Linked DNA regions of Homo sapiens: regions 2, 3 and 4 are each linked to region 1. The links are contacts of gene promoters, found by promoter capture Hi-C in blood cells and fetal thymus (Javierre and others, 2016). All regions are on one chromosome and are shown on one strand. The core of a region is centred on a gene start or on the middle of the fragment in contact, and the rest is flanking DNA. Distances in the headings are between cores, read along the strand shown. Region 1 overlaps PDPR (pyruvate dehydrogenase phosphatase regulatory subunit). Region 2 holds the start of MLKL (mixed lineage kinase domain like pseudokinase). Region 3 holds the start of RFWD3 (ring finger and WD repeat domain 3). Region 4 holds the start of CLEC18B (C-type lectin domain family 18 member B).

Region 1 (4,381 bases), core at 1,882-4,381:
GATCACCCAAAGTCAGGAGTTTGAGACCAGCCTGGCCAACATGGTGAGACCCTGTCTCTGTTAAAAATACAAAAATTAGCTGGGTATGGTCTCACGCACCTATAATCCCAGCTACTTGGGAGGCTGAGGCACAGGAATCGCTTGAACTCTGGAGGCAGAGGTCGCAGTGAGCCGAGAACACGCCACTGCACTCCACCTGGGTGACAGAGTGAGACTCTGTCTCAAATAAAAGAGTGTGCTGGCCAGGTGCAGTGGCTCACGCCTATAATCCCAGCACTTTGGGATTACATCTTATATTTATAAATAAATATAAAAATACAAAAATTAGCCGGGTGTGGTGGCGCATGCCTGTGGTCCCAGCTACTCGGGAGGCTGAGGCAGGAGAATGACTTGAACCTGGGAGGCAGATGTTGCAGTGAGCCGAGATTGCGCCATTGCACTCCAGGCTGGCAACAGAGCAAGACTGTCTCAAAAAAAAAAAAAAAAATGTGCTGCCCTTCATTAGCAAAGAAGTGACTAAGTATATTTATTTATTTATTTATTTATTTATTTATTTTGAGACAGAGTTTCACTCTTGTTGCACAGGCTGGCGTGCAATGGTGCGATCTCGGCTCACTGCAACCTCCACTTCCCGGGTTCAGGCGATTCTCCTGTTTCAGCCTCCCGAGTAGCTGGGATTACAAGCGCCCGCCACCATGCCCAGCTAACTTTTTGTATTTTTAGTAGAGACAGGGTTTCACCATGTTTGCCAGGCTGGTCTTGAACTCCTGACCTCAGGTGAACCACCCACCTCAGCCTCCCAAAGTGCTGGGATTACAGGTGTGAGCCACTGCGCCCGGCCTTATTTGTTTATTTTTTACACTCCAAGCTTGCTTTATTTAATAAGCATTAGGATATCTTTGAAGTGGATTTAGCTTCTCTAAATGTAAAGTCTTTATGCTTTTTGGTTTCTGTAGCACTGGATTAAAATTTGAAGTTACAGGATTATGACACACACAAAAATGCCTTTCGAAGTTAGGTCCCTTCTCTCCATGCAGTGTGGCCTCTTTTCTGTACACAGAGTAACTTCTGTGTCTGTGGCATCTTCAGGGAAGAAATGGCGTAGGTGAATCTCTGAACTTCCTACATAATTTTCTTTCCTATAAGTGGCAACCACAGCTGAGTGAAACAAACTGTAACCGAATGAAAGCAATGACAACGGAATCCTCCCCAGGAAGCTGCTGATTAGAGAGGGCCAAACGGACAGACATCTTGGCCACCTGTAACGAGCAACTTCCAGGTGGTTACTGATGGAGACTCTTTGAAGTTCACCCAAAGTGGGATCCACCTACAAATTGTTTCACAGTTTTCCTTCTTCTCCGAGGCAAAGTGAAAGCAACAGAAAACTCTCCACTGTTAGCTATCAGTGGACCCCTCCCAGCGTTTGCTCTGCTGCTTGGAGGAGTGACCCATACGCTCAACACCTGGCGAGTGCTGCATCCTGTCAGCCTCCTGTGGAAGCGGTTCACTTCGGTGCTGTCCAGGACTTTCCACTTTCCTTTATAGGAACGGTGATTGCGTCAGTGGCCGCTGTTAGGGAACTGAGCTGCTATGTAACGTGTTCTGAGAATCAGAAGCCCATCTTTGACCCCAGGATAGCAGATTAATTATGTCTGTGGGCATCGGGCATCATCTTTTGTATGGCAGGCGGCCAGGGTTTGTCTGCTGATTCCCCCAGAGAAGACACTCGCCTTGTCCTCATTGTGCCTGCTACCCTCGACTAACACAAGGACCTGGCAAAGAGGAATATTTTGTGCTTGTCAAGGACTTTCCTCCACTCTCTACCATCAGCTTGGCTAAAACTCCTGAGATGGTAACAGTAGCAAGCAGAGATGTCACATAGGCAGTGCTCCATTCTCTGTGCCTCAGGACCTGGAAGTTAACCACTTTCGGGATGAAATTCTTGCCTTGACGTCTGTCTCCCTCAACAGTAAACAGAGGGTGCAGCACTAATGAAAGGTTTCCCCAGGCGTCCCTCCCTTGACAAGTAATGTGAGTGCCCAGGCTGACTGCTGCCTTTGTCCCTGCAGGAGATGAGTGTGGGCTATGCAAATGGGATCCGGGTGATGAGCATGACGCACACAGGAGAGCCAGGATTCATGCTCTACATCCCCATAGAGGTGAGAGGGCACCCTTCCCTTCCCTTCCCTTCACTTCCCTTCCCTTCCCTTCCCTTCCCTTCCCACAACCACTGTGGGGTGCCAGTGCTCCCAGCAGCGCGTTCACCAGCACTGGCAGGTTTGGAGAGCTGTATCTGATTGGGCCTTGGGAGCTGAGGTAGGCTGCATTGAAGAGATTTGACCATTTTTAACTAAGTTATATAAGTTTTTTTGAATAGGTGATACATTTAAAAAGTATTTGGCGCCGTCTGATCTGTTCTCACCAACTGTCACCAATAATATTAGTATTACTTTTATATGTCATTTCAGATTTGTATGCATATTGCAAGCAAATTCATAATTAATTTTTTTTTTTTTTTGAGACAGGGTCTCACTCTTTTGCCCAGGGTGGAGTGCAATGGCATGACCGTGGCTCACTGCAGCCTCGACCTCTTGGGCTCAAGCCACCCTCCCACCTCCGCCTCCCGAGTAGCTGGGACTGTAGGCATGTGCCACCATGCCTGGCTAATTTTTGTATTTTTTTGTAGAGACAGGTTTTGCCATGTCGCTCAAGCTGGTCTCAAACTCCTGACCTCAGGTGATACACCCACCTTGTCCTCCCAAAGTGCTGGGATTATAGGTGTGAGCCACCATACCCAGCCAAGCCCCCTTTTTAAAAACAGAAATGGAAGCATACTGCTATTCTTCATCCTGTTTTTTTTTTTTTCACTTCACAATTTTTTTTTTAATTGAGGCAGAGTCTCACTCTGTCACCTAGGGTGGAATGTAGTGGCATAATCTCAGTTCACTGCAACCTTCGCCTCCCAGGTTCAAGTGATTGTCCTGCTTCAGCCTCCCGAGTAGCTGGGATTACAGGTGCACGCCACCACGCCTGGCTAATTTTTGTATTTTTAGTACAGACGGGGCTTCACCATGTTGCCCAGGCTTGTTTCCAACTCCTGACCTCAAGTGGTCCACACACCTCAGCCTCCCAAAGTGCTGGGATTACAGGCATGAGCTACCATGCCCGGCCTCACTTCACAATTTCTCTTAGAGCTCTTTCTTTGTTGGTACCTAAAGCAAAAGAGCTTCCTTGTTCTTTTTTTCTTTATTTTTTAACAGTGGCGTAGCATTCCATTGTGGTACATCATTCCGATACTAATAGACATTTATGTTATTTCTAGTCTTTTGCTGTTATAAAAAGGTCTGCAGGCTGAGTTCAGTCTAATCATATGCAAATAGTAATAGTTTCTTCCTTCTCCAGAACCTTTTTTTTGAGACGGAGTCTCACTCTGTCGCCCAGGCTGGAGTGCAGTGGCGCAATCTCGGCTCACTGCAAGCTCCGCCTCCCGGGTTCACGCCATTCTCCTGCCTCAGCCTCCTGAGTAGCTGGGACTACAGGCGCCTGCCACCACGCCCGGCTAATTTTTTGTATTTTTCATAGAGACGGGGTTTCACCGGGTTAACCAGAATGGTCTCGATCTCCTACCTCGTGATCTGCCAGCCTTGGCCTCCCAAAGTGCTGGGATTAGAAGCGTGAGCCACCGCACCCGGCCGGCTTTTTTTTTTTTTTTTCTTTTTTTTTTTTGAGATGAAGTCTCACACTTGTCCCCCAGGCTGGAGTGCGATGACATGATCTAGGCTCACCGCAACCTCTGCCTCCCGGGTTCAAGTGATTCTCCTGCCTCAGCCTCCCGAGTAGCTGGGATTACAGGCGCCTGCCACCACACCCGACTAATTTTTGTATTTTTAGTAGAGACAGGATTTCACCATGTTGGCCAGCTTGGTCTCGAACTCCTGACCTTAGGTGATCCACCCACCTCGGCCTCCCAAAGTGCTGGAATTACAGGCGTGAGCCACCGCACCCGGGCCCATAGTCTTTCTTCCTATAATTTCCTTCCTTTGTTCTATTGTGACAGGTAGCAATCAATGATTGTAGGCATGCTTGTTTTCTTCTTGATGTTAGTCATACTACTTGTAGTGATAGGTTTTCTCTTAATTTTTTTTTTTTTTGTGAGACAGGGCATTGCTCTGTCACCCAGGCTGGCTTACTGCAGCTTGACCTCCGAGGCTGAAGTGATCCCCCTGCCTCAGCCTCCTGAATAGCTGGGACTACAAGCATGTGCCAACATCCCCAGCTAATTTTTTAATTTTATTTTTGTAGAGGCAGGGTCTTGCTATGTTGCCTAGGCTGGTCTCAGACTCCTGGACTCTAGTGATCCTCTCACGTCAGCCTCCCAAAG
Region 2 (4,381 bases), core at 947-3,446, 4.6 Mb after region 1:
TTCCTAGCTCTAAGCTCCAGTTATCTTACCAGCAGCCTCATCAGAAAGCCATATCTCAGCACTGAACTAATCAGAAAGGAAAATGGGGAAAATATCCCACCCATAGAACTGACAAACAATTTCAAATAATAAATTATACAGTGGTGGCATGGTATGAAGAAAATTGCAGCGGTCACATTGGCTCATGCCTGTAATCTCAGCGCTTTGGAAGGCCGAGGCAGGTGGATCACCTGAGGTCGGGAGTTTGAGATCGCCCGGCCAACATGGTGAAACCCCATCTCTACTAAAAATACTAAAATTAGCCAAGCATGGTAGCAGGCGCCTGTAATCCCAGCTACTCGGGAGGCTGAGGCAGGAGAATTGCTTGAACCCGGGAGGTGGAGGTTGCACTGAGCCGAGATCACACCACTGTGCTCCAACCTGGGCAACAGAGCAAAACTCCGTCTCAAAAACAAAAACAAAAACAAAAAAAAAGAAAGAAAGAAAATTGCACAAAACAAAGCTTGAAGAAAGGAGGAAAGAGAAGTGTTATATTTCTGGCTGGGAAGACTAAAACAGACCAACCCAGCAATCCTTCCCAAATTTAAATCCAATTTAATGCAGTTCCAATAAAACATCTACTGACATATTTTGGCATTAAATCAAAATGATCCTAAAGTTCATTTGAAATGGGAAATTAGTAGGGATAACCAGGATTTTAAAAAATAAAGAAAAGGGGACTTGCCTGTATGAAATTAAAATATATTAAAAACTGCAAAATATTGGGAAAAAGCACCCTACAATAACTTAAATTGTTTAAGGTCTTATTAAGTATATGATCTACAAGGGAAGAAAGGGAATATACATATATACACACTTAGACTGGGCAATTTGAATTTCTAGGAACTTATGATGTAGAAAAGCTTGTGTTTGTAGATAGATGGCTACCGAGATGTTCACTGCAGTGCTATTTATAATATGTAAAACAAACAGCTAAGAATATGTTCAGGCCAGCTGCAGTGGCTCACACCTGTAATCCCAGCACTTTGGGAGGGTGAGGTAGGAGGATCACCTGAGCCCAGGAGTTTGAGACCAGCCTGGGTGACAAAGCGAGACCCTGGCTCTACCAAAAAATACAAAAAAAATTTAATTGGGTGTGGTGATGTGCACCTTGTAGTCCTAGCTACTTGGGAGGATCTGGTTGGAGGATCACTTGAGCCCATGAGTTCGGAGGCTGCAGTGAGCTATGATTGTGCCACTGCGCTCCAGCCTGGGCAACAGAGGAAGACTCCATCTCTCAAAATAAATAAATAAAAAGAAAAAGGGGATTATGTTCATATGTTACGATGAGAAAACAGGTTACTAATTTTAAAAGTGAAAAATCTTTAAATGGTAATAACAATGCAAATTCACCTCTTCCCTCCAAAAAATAAAAAATAAAAATAAAATAAAATAAGTAAAGGTTATCAGGCATTTCCCTCTTCTCTCTCTCTCACTCTGTCTCTCTCTCACGCCTTCAGCCTGCAAACCTGAAGACTTCCTTTTTCTGAGAAGACATCAGGTAACTTGTTCCCGTGCCCCTGCCCTCCACGACCCCCACTGCTACTGGGCGTCTCGCTTTGGCGGAAGGTAGTGCGAGATCCGAGCAGGCAGCTCCACCATCAGAGCTGAGGAAATGAAACCAACTCGGTCCTGAGTTCCAGGAACTCGGACCGGGCCACCCTCACCCCTGGTTCTTCCCATCACCGTCCAGGAATTCGGCTGCAGCCCCTCGGCCCCGCCGCCTCCTGGGAAGACCCCATGCTCACCTTCGCGCCTCCCGAGGGGTGTGCGTCCAATCTGTCCCGTGCACAGTTCCAAAAAGCTCGCTCTTCCACCTTCTTTCCCACGACCGCCTCCTGCCCAGGCGAGAAGTTTGCAAACGCGAGGCCCGCGGGAGTTCCCCTGCGCCCCCTTTCCTGGTGCCCGCACCCTGCACTCTGCTGACTGTACCGGACGCCACACGTGGCTGGCGGCGACAAGGCGCCCCGATCCCTACCTGAGGGAAACCCCGGCCACTGCAGCTGCACTTGAGCAGGGTCCCTCCACTCAGCCACTTGGATGGCTGTTTCTGTCCAGTGCCCTCCGGAGGCCACTGCCTCAGGTCTGTGATGCCTGCAGAGAATGCTGCGACACTTCCCCCTCCGACGTGGCTCCAGCTGCCAACCACCAGGCTCACGGTGCCCTGGCTCCCTGGAGCCGCTTTCTAGGCAGCTCGGAGCCACGGCCCCTCCCTTCCTTCCTCCTGTCCTTTCCACACTCTTCCTGCCTTCCCCAAAGTCACTGGGTAACTACGCTGTACACGTCAGTACCAAGCCTTCTTTAGGGGCTGGGGATTCAGAATAGAATAAGGTCCCAGCAACTATTATAACCAGGACACAGTATGAGAAGGACTGGAAGTTTAGAGAAAAACTGAAAGTTGGAGAGAAGCTTCTGGTGTTTGCTTCTCTGTGCTGGATAATATTGGCGGGGTGGGGAGGGTACGAGGGAAGAGACACCAAAGTGGGAAAAAAGTCACTTCCTCTTCTAAGGTCATTGCAGAACATCCTGTTACAGTGTGAGTCAGGTTTTCTTAAGATTAACTACATCTTCAGCTAGAAAGTCTAAGTAGTGTTATGCATTTACTCAACAGACTATTTGCCTCTAAAAGAACAGAACTGGGAGCTGGGTGTGGTGGCTCATGCCTGTAATTCCAGCACTTTGGGAGGCGGAGGTGGCCAGATCACCTGAGGTCAGGAGTTCAAGACCATCCTGGCCAACATGGGGAAACCCTGTCTCTACTAAAAATACAAAAATTAGCCAGGCGTGGTGGTGCATGCCTGTAATCCCAGCTACTCGGGAGCCTGAGAGGGGAGAATCGCTTGAAGCCGGCCTTGGAGATTCATTTCTTCGCCTTGCTATTGTTCTTCGTCTCCTGCATCATCAGTTTTCTTCCTGTCTTAGGTGAAGAGATTGAGGTGAGGCAGGAGAATAGGGTCTGCAGGCAGGGAACATAAAGCTGATTCACGCTGACTTCTTAGAACTAAATAAAATGGACACATTTCAGCTATGACAGGAAATATTTTCTTCATTTACATATGGCGTTCACTGAGTAAGTGACTGAGCAACTTCACTTCATCTTCTTCATTTACATAGGGTGTACACCAATTAACCAATGGGAGCCTCTAGAGGGTATTTAAATCCCAGAAAATTCTGTAACGGAGTTCTTGAGCCCCTATGCTCACGCTGGCTCCCACCCTGTGGAGTGTACCTTTGTTTTCAATACATCTCTGCTTTTGTTGCCTCATTCTTTCCTTGCTTTGTGCATTTTGCCCATTTCTTTGTTCAAGATGCCAAGAACCTGGACACCTTCAACAAGTAACACAGGTGCCTGTGATTTATTGAAGGAAGACTCTTAGGAGAGTGGTGGGTATGATAGGGCAGAGGAAGAAAAAGTGAAACAAGTATGTAGTCAGTGGAGGCTCCATGGGGAGGTCTGGAATGTGAAGGTCTGGAACAAGAGGCAGCCTCCTTTCTGCCCAGGGCAATTCTTCTGGACGAGGGGGAAGCTGTGTGAGTGTTTAGCTGTCAACACTCATAGCAGCTGCAGGATGGGTATACTGATCTGCTATAAACAAAATCATACAATGTATAACCTTTTGGAAGTTTTTTTCTTTTCTTTTCTTTTTTTTTTTTTTTACTGTCCCACCATCAATGTACAAGACATTCAGTTTCTCTGCATCCTCAGCAGCATTTTATTTTGTCCCTGCCTGAATTTTTAGCTATTCTAACAGGTGAATAGTGATATATCATCATGGTTTTTTGTTTTGTTTTGTTTTGAGATAGAGTCTTACTCTGTTGCCCAGGCTGGAGTGCAGTGGCGCCATCTCAGCTCACTGCAACCTCCACCTCCTGGGTTCAAGCGATTCTCCAGCCTCAGCCTCCCAAGTAGCTGGGACTACAGGCGTGCACCACCACACCTGTCTATTTTTTGTATTTTTAGTAGAGACAGCGTTTCGCCATATTGGCCAGACTGGTCTCGAACTCCTGACCTCAGGTGATCCACCCACCTTGGCCTCCCAAAGTGCTGGGATTATAGGCATGAGCCACTGCGCCTGGTCTCATCATGGTTTTAATTGGCATTTCTTTAGTGCCTGGTGATGATGGACATGTTTTCATGTGCTTGTTTGCCATCTGTATAGCCTCATTGGTGAAATGTCTGTCCATGTCTTTTGCCCATTTTTAGTTGAATTCTTTTTAAAAAACTTGAGTTTTGAGAGTTTAAATATTCTAGATATTAATCCTTTGCCAGATAGGTGGTGTTCAAATGGTGGTGGAGTAACTGAACAAAAAAATGAACTTCACCTAAACCTCATATTCTATG
Region 3 (4,381 bases), core at 1,408-3,907, 4.5 Mb after region 1:
GGATTACAGGAGTGAGCTACTGCAGCTGCCTAACTAAAAGCTTTTAATGTTTCTAGGGTACAACGACAGTCTCCCAAGAATTGTGTGTCAGAACATAAGGCCCAAGCTACTTCTAGATGTACTCAAGAGACATTAAGCAACTCAGCCTTCAGGAAGACAAAGGGGAGAAATGGACTAAAAAGAGCAGAATCTAGGGGGCCGCACTGTCTACTCCCATATGGTTATTTAAATTAAATAAAAATCAAATTCGGCCAGGAGCTGTGGCCCACGCCTATAATCCCAGCACTTTGGGAGACTGAGGCAGGTAGCTGGAGACCAGGAGTTGGAGACCAGCCTGGGCAACACGGCAAAACCCCGTCTCTACAAAAAATACAAAAAAATTAGCCAGCCGTGATGGTGTGCACCTGTGGTCCTAGCTACTTGGGAGGCTGAGGCAGGAGAACCCCTTGAACCCGGAGAGTGGAGGTTACATTGAGCCGAGATCACGCCACTGCACTCCAGACCGGGAGAGAGAGTAAGACTCCGTCTAAAAAAAGAAAAAAGAAAGAAATAAAATAAGTTCCTTTGTCGTGCAGGTCACATTTCAACTGCTAGAAACACACATAGGGCGGGTGACTCCCATACTGGACAGCAGAAATACAGAACACTTTTCTCGTCGCACAAAGTTCTATGGAACGGTGCAGTTCTGGAGCTGAAGCTTCCTAACCACTGTAGGCCAGTCGGAGGTGCCTAGAACGAGAGACCATGGGCTGGGCACCCCAAACCTTGAGGATGTCACACAAACGCTGTTTTTTATGTGTGCTGTGAGCGGTGCTTAAAATGTCAACCTCAGACTTGTCATCTTTGTTACTCAGGTTTCAATCAATGGCCACAACAGGCAGGACGAAAGCCCCTCAATTAAAGGTTGAGAAGAGGTGGGCGGGGGAAGTGTTCAAATCTTTGCTCTGGCCGGTGCAGAGGGTCACGCCTGTGATCCCTGGACACTGAAATGCCCAGGCGGATGGATCACTTACGCTCTGGTGTTCCAGACCAGCTTGGGCAACACAGTGAAATTCCCATCTCTACCAAAAAAGAAAAATAGAACAGGTCAGGCGCGGTGGCTCACACCTGTAATCCCAGCACTTTGGGAAGCCGAGGGCAGACCACTTGAGGTCGGAGTCCCAGAATGGCCAATATGGTGAAACCCCGTCTCCACTAAAAATACAAAAACTACCCGGGTGTGGTGGCGCATGCCTGTAATCCCAGCTACTTGGGAGGCTGAGGCAGGAGAATCGCTTGAACCCGGGAGGCAGAGGTTGCAGTGAGCCGAGATCGCACCACTGCACTCCAGCAGGGGCAACAAAGCGAGACTCTATCTCAAAAAAAGAAAGAAAAAAGAAAAATAAAACAATGAGCCGGGCGTGGTGGCGCGCACCTGTGGTCCCAGCTATTGCGGGAAGCCGAGGTGGGAGGATCCCTGGGGCCCGGGAGTTCGAGACTGCAGTGAGCTCTTCCAGCCTGGGTGCAACAGGGAGACTTTTCTTTCTTTCTTTCTTTCTTTTTTTGAGATGGAGTTTCACTCTTGTTGCCCAGGCTGGAGTGCAATGGCGTGATCTCAGCTCACTGCAACCTCGGCCTCCCGGGTTCAAGCGATTCTCCTGCCTCAGCCTCCCGAGTAGCTGGGAAATGGGGTTTCTCCATGTTGGTCAGGCTGGTCTCGAACTCCTGGCCTCAGGTGATCCGACTGCCTCGGCCTCCCAAAGTGCTGGGATTACAGGCCTGAGCCACCGCTTTTCTCTTTATAACACCTTTTTCTCTTTATAACAGGAAAAAGGGAGGAAGAGAGAGGGAGAGGGAGAGGCGGAGGGGGAAGAGGAGGGAGAGGGAGACGGGAGGGGAAGGGAGAGAGGGAAAGAAGGAAATTAAATCCCTGTTCTTTTACTACATGGGGAAAGAAAGACATAGATAGATTAGATAGACAGATTAGATAGATAGATAGATAGATAGATAGATAGATAGATAGATTGATTAGATACATAGATATTAAATCCCTGTTCTTTTACTACATGGGGAAACTTTGGGCGGGTTTCCTAAACTCGGCTCAACTTGTTCTCCTGTAAAACAGGGATAATACAAGTCTTTACTCCACAGTTTCCGTGATGAAATTAAAAATGAAGTTCTTCCATCAACTTTAAAGTGATGAAGTAATCGGCGCTCAGAGCGGGCGCAGGCAACGCCGCTGAGGAGCCCGAGGCTAGGCTCTCGGGGGAAGGGCCGGGCGACCTCCCACCCCGGCCAGGGCAGGCCCCGCAGCAGCGAACTCGGCTCCTTCAGTGATCGCCCCGAGCTCTCGCCTGCCCAGCCCCCACGCCCAGCAACCCAGATACGCGCGGGGGTTCGGGCTCCTTAGCCCCGACCACTGGCGCCGCCCCGAGGGCCCGAATCCCCTCAGGCCGCCGGGTTCCAAGCCCGCGTGCAGCCCACCTCGTGGGGTGTCTCCTGAATCCCAATCCAGGAATCAGGCGTGGGGAGGTTTATCCCGAAGCTAGAGGCCCAAGGCCTGAGGAGAAGCAACACCCCTCCTCACCTGAAACCAGCAGGCCGCGGCCGGGCTCGCGAGCCCGCCGAAGACTCGGTAGTTACCTCGGCCGCACTCCGAATGCACCTACGCCAACTGCCACTTCCGGAGCCGCTCAAGCTCCCGCCAGAGCCGCCGGCAGGCATGCTCCTATTGGACAGAAGCCCTACGCTGTGGCCAATACCCACTCTTCTTCTTCAATGGGTCCCCCGATAGCTGAAGCAGCGGTGCTCTCATTGGCTGGTAGTTCGTCCTGACGAGGCGGGACCGCGCTTGAGGAAGCCTCCTACAATTGGCAGGAATCTACGTCCGTCACCTTGCACCCGCCCCGGAAAAAATGGGAGGTTTTTTTGTTTTTTTTTTGTTTGGTTTTTTTTTTTTTTTTTAGCGCGTTTTATTTGAACTTTCTGGCGGGAGAAAGTTATATGATTTCTCGGTCCATTTTGGAATGGGGATGATGATATTAAAACTGACTCCTGCTGCTTATCCCTAACGCTTTAGTGAAGGAGTTATCTGTATCCAAAGGATAGCAGCTAATCGAATAATTTCAAAATATTTCAATATTTTGAATTTCGGAGCCTGTAAAGAGGCGTAGGACAGTCCAGTTCATATGTATCCTCTCATGGGGTTGAAGAGCTCACGCAAAATACTTTGCCTACATAATCTCTTCAATCTCAAACCGCTGCAAGGGATCTGAGCTACTGAACAGTCTCAAATCACTTGTTAGGGCCGCCGCTCGCCGCCAGCGCCAAAAGAAAGGGGCCCCCGGAATTCTCCAGCTACGTACGAGGAGCGCGAGCCCACAGCCGTCTCGGCTCCGAGCCCGCCGCCGGCAGGAAAGCCACAAAGAAAACTGATAAACCCAGACAAGATGATAAAGACGATCTAGATGTAACAGAACTCACTAATGAAGATCCTTTGGATCAGCTTGTGAAATACGGAGTGAATTGTGGTCCTATTGTGGGAACAACCAGGAAGCTGTATGAGAAATAGCTTTTGAAACTGAGGGAGCAAGGAACAGAATCAAGATCGTCTCCTTCAGCAACAATTTCTTCTTCAGCAGAAAATACAAGGCAGAATGGAAGTAATGATTCTGACAGATATGGTGAAAATGAAGAAGACTCTAAATTGGGCTCAAGTTTGAGAAGAGAGAACCGCTAAACAGGGGAGTAAAGACTCCAGTAACCCTCAAGCAAAGAAGAGTTGAGCACAAGGAGAGCTATTCTCAAGCTGGAATAACTGGGACTGAATGGACAAGTGGATCTTCAAAAGGCGGACCTCTGCAGGCATTATTAACTAGGGAATCTACAAGAGGGTCAAGAAGAACTCCAAGCAAAAGGGTGCACGCTTCAGAATATTTTCGTATAGATGGAGCAGTAATTTCAGCGAGTACTCCCATAGCTGAAACTATAATTGCTTCAAACAACGAATCCTTAATTGTCAATAGGGTGACTGGAAATTTCAAGCATGCATTTCCTATTCTGCCAGTCACTGAATTCTCAGACATACCCAGAAGAACACCAAAGAAACCATTGACAAGAGCTGAAGTGGGAGAAAAAAAACACAGGAAAGAAGAGTAGAAAGGGATATTCTTAAGGAAATGTTCCCCTATGAAGCAACTACACCAACAAGAATTAGTGCTAGTTGCCGCAGAACAATCAAAGGAGCTGCAGGCCGGCCATTAGAACTCAGTGATTTGAGGATGGAGGAGTCGTTTTCATCTACATATGTTCCTAAGTATGTTCCCTTGGCAGACGTCAAGTGAGAAAATACAAAAAAAAGGGACGCTCCATTCCTGTATGGATAAAAATTTTGCTGTTTGTT
Region 4 (4,381 bases), core at 1,079-3,578, 4.3 Mb after region 1:
GCAGTCCCCTGATCTCCCGAGACTCCCTGAGCTCATCTGTAAACGGAGCAGGGAGGTGCCTGCAGGATAGGACTCACAAGCACAGAGTGGATGCAGGGAGGGGGGCCCCTCGGGGCTGCACCCCAAGCCAACTTCATCCTGCACTAATGTCCATCGGGGTTTTACCTCTGATGAAGGCTGGGGCCAGGAGCTGGGGGCTCCCCGGGGTCCCTCAGCAGCCCTCCACCCCCACAAGACCTTCAGTCTCCACTGTGTCCAAAGAAGGGGTGCCCTGGAGCCCTAGAGGCCCGGAGGGTGCTCGGGGCCGGGCCACGAGGGAGGCTGAGCCATGGAGCTCCATTTGCACCTTTATGGAAATGAAGTTTTCTAAGACTTTGACAAAAGGGCCCTGGAAAGGGTGCCAGCTGCCAGCCAACGACCACCGCAGCCCCTCCTGGGGTCCCAGGCAGGAGTACCCAACCACGGAGGTCACAGCTGGGAGCACCCCTGGTTGCCCAGGGTCTGAGCCTGAGGAGAGGCAGAGCCACTCAGGGCTGGGAATGGGGGAGAAGCGACCCCCCGCATTTAGCCACCCCACCCCCACCTCCTGGGAAACTGACCCTAGAGTGTTCAAGGTCGCCACTGTGGCCACCTGCCTTGGAGGAGTTCATGGGAAGCAGCCATGGGGAACCCTCCCGCCCCCACCACCCTGCCCTGGCTCCCTGGCCTGCTAACATGGGCTGGGGCTGCTGGGGTCCCAGACAATGGAGGGCAGCGTTTCTGAGCCTCCAGATGACAGTCCCAACCCCGCAGCCCCAGCCGGGCTGGTGGGGAACTCTATACCCCCGACCCCTGGCCCCTGCTGAAAATGTGGAAAATGTGGACGAGTGAGTGAGCAGAGAACATGGGCAAGGCCCGTCCTAGTGGCTCAGATAAGCTCAGGAGGAGGCGCTGGGTCCTTGCCGCACAGAAGCCCCTCCCCAGCCCAGCACGACCTTCTCCCTCCCTGGCCCGGCCGCCCATCCTGCAGGGCTCCTCGTGAAGCTCCCCTTCCCTGGAGGAGGGGATCCGGCTCCTCCTGTGGCTCCTGGTCTCTGTGGCAACAAGATGCCAGGGAAGGCCCAAGGTCCTGCCCTTCAGGCGAGTGGGAGCCAAGGGGCCCGACCTCCTGAACTGAGGGTGGGGGGTTAAGAAACTGCAGAGACCCCCAGCAACCAGGGCCTCCGTCCCTCAGGGGCAAGGTGGCTGGCTGTGCCTGCCCACCCTGGTCAAGTGGAAGGGCACCTGGACAGGCGTGGCCTCCTGAGCCGCCCTCTGGGGTCCGCGCCTCCGGCCACCCCCCTGGCAGAGCCCAGCTGGGTCGGGTACTCACCAGCCTCCGCATGTCAGCCGCAGGGGGCTGGACCCAGCTGCGCAGGCGGTTGTGCAGGGAGAGGAGCAAGAAACTCTCCTTCCTGTTCAGGGCTGGGGTGGGGAGAGAAGGTCAGGCAGCCCGAGGATGGGGGGACCTGAACCCAACACACGGCAGAATAAGCATGTGTCCCTGCCCTTGGAAAACAAGATGGGAGAGGAGTGTGGTGGGTGCAGGGGACGTGGGGCATAGCAATGGAGCGAGGCTGAGAGAGAGACCAGGTACAGCAGGCGTGGGCTGAGTGCTGGGGTTGGGGTGGCGGGAGGGAACAGCGGTGCGGGCTGGGTGTAGGGGCCAGCCCTGGCTCCCGCAGGCCCCTGTCTGGGGCTCCTCCGGGCCACGGATTTCTCCAGGCCCCAGCCACAGCGCTCCTCGGCGTTCCTCCTTGACCCCAGCCCTGGTCCTCCTTCCTCCTCCTTCCTCCTCCTTCCTCCCCAGTCCAGCATCCACCCCTCACCGCCCCCGGGCTGTCCCAGGGCTTCCTCATTAAACCACCCGCACGGCCTGGGGCTCAGGCCTGGGACCGGGCTTCCAGAAGTCTCCTAGCACCCACTCCTCAGAGCTCATAATGGTGCCTCCACCTACCTCCTCACCAGGTGTCCCTTACCTCCGGCCATCGGAGCCTGCTCCTGCAGCTGGGGTGGCCACACCTCTGCCCAGGTGGTGCCAAGGAGGGCCAGGAGCACAGCCAGGAGATGCCCCCGGCCAGGGGAGGTCTCTGGATGCAGCATGGGTCTGTTGGGCCCGTCAGGCGCTCCGTGCACAGCCTGGCTCAGCCACCCGGCTTGTTTCTCAGGCTGGATGGAGCTATTCACAATCTCCAGGAGTCAGGCTGGGCTGGTGGACAAAAGAGGGGGGCTGGTGAACAAAAGAAGGAGGCTGGTGAGTGAGTAATCAGTGTGTCCAGACAGCCTCCTGTTGGCGCTGGCATGAAAAGAGACAACTCCCGGGGATGCCTGCCTGCTCCGGCCTCGGCCTGGCCAGCCCGCCCCCGACAGCAGGCAGAGTGGCGTGCACTGCCCCGCGGCCCCTGCTAATCATTGTGGGATTATTAGCACCCTTGGGGAGCCCCCAGAGACCCCGCTGATTGGCCTGGGGACATTCCGGTGCTGCAGATTAGTGACCGATGGCCGTGTCCTGGCTGGGACAGTGTCCTCCGAGCCCACTGATGGCTTCCGCTCCCCAGCCCCGGGCCCTGGGAGGAGGACCTCGGCTATGGTCCTTCTGGTGAGCAGGAACTGGGCAAGACCCCAGGGGAGTTCTTTCCTTTCTTGGGAAGCTCGTCCCAACCCCCCAGCCATGAATTAAACATAGGCAAGAGGTAACCGCACACCAGAGGGGTGCAATCTGTGGGCTCAAAGGGGGGTGGGCTGAGGCCGCACCTGCACGAGGAAAAGGGTGCCTTAGGAAAGTCTGTCTGGGCAGGGTCGGGGGCTGGGCCCAGCCCCGGTGCCCACCACCCTCACCCACGTGACTACAGGCCAGGGGGGGAGTGAGGCAGGAGGAGTCAAAGCAGGCGGGGACCAGAGCACGTGATGCCCTGGGCTGACTCCAGTCCTGCTGGGATCACGTCCGCCTCTAGAAAAACAGGCGGCGTAGCAGGTGGGCAGCACGTTGCCATGATGTGCCGTGGCCCGGCCGTGGCTGGCGTGATCCCACCAGAGTGAGCTGGAGCAGATCTGCACCATGGGCCAAGTTTCTCAGAAAATACATGGCTTCCTGCGGGCTGCAGCCTAATGCCCACGTTCCTCTCGGGGCAGACCGAAGGTTATTCAACCAGGGCAAAGGACAGCCTTGCAAACCAACTACGTCCTCCTTCTGGAGTTTGTGTGACCCCTGGCCCCTGAGCCCACACCCTCTCGGAGCGGGGTTCCAACTCCGTGGAAGCTCTGCTGAGATGCAGGTAGGGTTGGCTTTCCTGGGGAAACACCAGTGGAATGTGGCTATCGTCATGGGTGCCAGGGATGGGGATGAGGCCAGGCATACAGGCCATGAAGGCGGTCTGGAACTGCATGTCCCCCACAATACCTAGGGGCTCAGGAGTTTCTTCTCCCTCAAACAGAAACCCAGCACCCTCAGGGTCACTGCGTGTGGGTCCTAGCAATGCTTAATAGCTACCTGTTTTTTGATGTATTTTTATTTTTATTTTTTAGACAGTTTCATTCTGCCACTCAGGTTGGAGTGTTATAATCTCAGCTCACTGCAGCCTTGACCTCTTGGGCCCAAGTGATCCTTCCACCTCAGCCTCCCAAGTAGCTGGGACCAGGTGTGTGCCACCATGCCTGGCTAATTATTATTATTTTTTTTGGTAGAGACAGGATTTCATCGTCTTGCCCAGGCTGGTCTCCAACTCCTGGGCTCAAGGGATCTTCCCACCTTGGCCTCCCAAAGTGCTGGGGTTGCAGGCATGAGCCACCACACCTGGCCGAGCCACCTGTGTTTATGGAGCTCACAAAGCCTGTTTGCATGTGTGAGTTCAAGTTATTGCCACAAGAACCTGGTGCAGTAGCAGATGGGATGCCCGTCGTGTAGATGAGGAAACGGGCTTAGTGTGTCTAAGGGGCTTGTCCAAGGTCACTCAGCGAGTGCATGGAGCATCCCAGCTAATCCAAGGTCTCTGCCTTCCCATTCCCAACGCTTTAATTCACATCCTGATCTTTCCCAGTGCAGTTTCCACAGCTCTGCTATGCCGGGTGATAAAAGACCCACTTCCTACAATTGGGCTTCCATGGCAAACACGGCCAGTTGACCCATATAGTATGATGCCAGGCACTTGGGACAGGCGGGAGAAAAAGATATTTTGGGGATTAGGGTGGAGCAACTTTTGAAGGGTCCCATGGCCCTGGCTCACTGCAAGAAGAGTCCCAGGCCGGGTGTGATGGCTCATGCCTGTAATCCCAGAACTCTGGGAGGCCAAGGCAGGCGGATCACTTGAGGTCAGGAGCTTGAGACCAGCCTGGCCAACATGGTGAAATCCTGTCTCTACTAAAA

Evidence for each region. Contacts are between HindIII fragments. The CHiCAGO score rates a contact against its expected background, and 5 or more counts as called.
Region 2: the fragment with the promoter of MLKL here is called in contact with a fragment that was not itself captured in region 1 in 2 of 17 cell types (M1 macrophages and M2 macrophages); the score reaches 10.6 in M1 macrophages.
Region 3: the fragment with the promoter of RFWD3 here is called in contact with a fragment that was not itself captured in region 1 in 3 of 17 cell types (M1 macrophages, M2 macrophages and erythroblasts); the score reaches 27.2 in M1 macrophages.
Region 4: the fragment with the promoter of CLEC18B here is called in contact with a fragment that was not itself captured in region 1 in 4 of 17 cell types (M1 macrophages, M2 macrophages, megakaryocytes and 1 more); the score reaches 27.8 in M1 macrophages.

Annotation. Positions count from the first base shown.
Region 1 is chr16:70,146,395-70,150,775 of GRCh38, forward strand. PDPR (pyruvate dehydrogenase phosphatase regulatory subunit) reads left to right here. Exons shown (of 19, transcript NM_017990.5): 17 at 2,070-2,159. Among named protein-coding and RNA genes, the nearest start is that of CLEC18C, 25 kb to the right of the region's middle. The HindIII fragment of the contact is 4,530 bases long and covers 867-4,381 here.
Region 2 is chr16:74,698,666-74,703,046 of GRCh38, forward strand. MLKL (mixed lineage kinase domain like pseudokinase) reads right to left here and starts at 2,197. Exons shown (of 11, transcript NM_152649.4): 1 at 1,788-2,197. RefSeq lists an enhancer at 1,651-2,100. The HindIII fragment of the contact is 1,546 bases long and covers 901-2,446 here.
Region 3 is chr16:74,664,220-74,668,600 of GRCh38, forward strand. It overlaps RFWD3 (ring finger and WD repeat domain 3), which reads right to left and starts at 2,658. Exons shown (of 13, transcript NM_018124.4): 1 at 2,567-2,658. It also overlaps the pseudogene TMPOP2. RefSeq lists a silencer at 2,188-2,337. The HindIII fragment of the contact is 4,771 bases long and covers 696-4,381 here.
Region 4 is chr16:74,419,150-74,423,530 of GRCh38, forward strand. CLEC18B (C-type lectin domain family 18 member B) reads right to left here and starts at 2,329. Exons shown (of 12, transcript NM_001385193.1): 1 at 1,998-2,329; 2 at 1,352-1,443. The coding sequence starts at 2,121. It overlaps LOC107984827 (a long non-coding RNA gene), which reads left to right and starts at 2,971. Exons shown (of 3, transcript XR_001752253.3): 1 at 2,971-3,293. The HindIII fragment of the contact is 28,054 bases long and covers 1-4,381 here.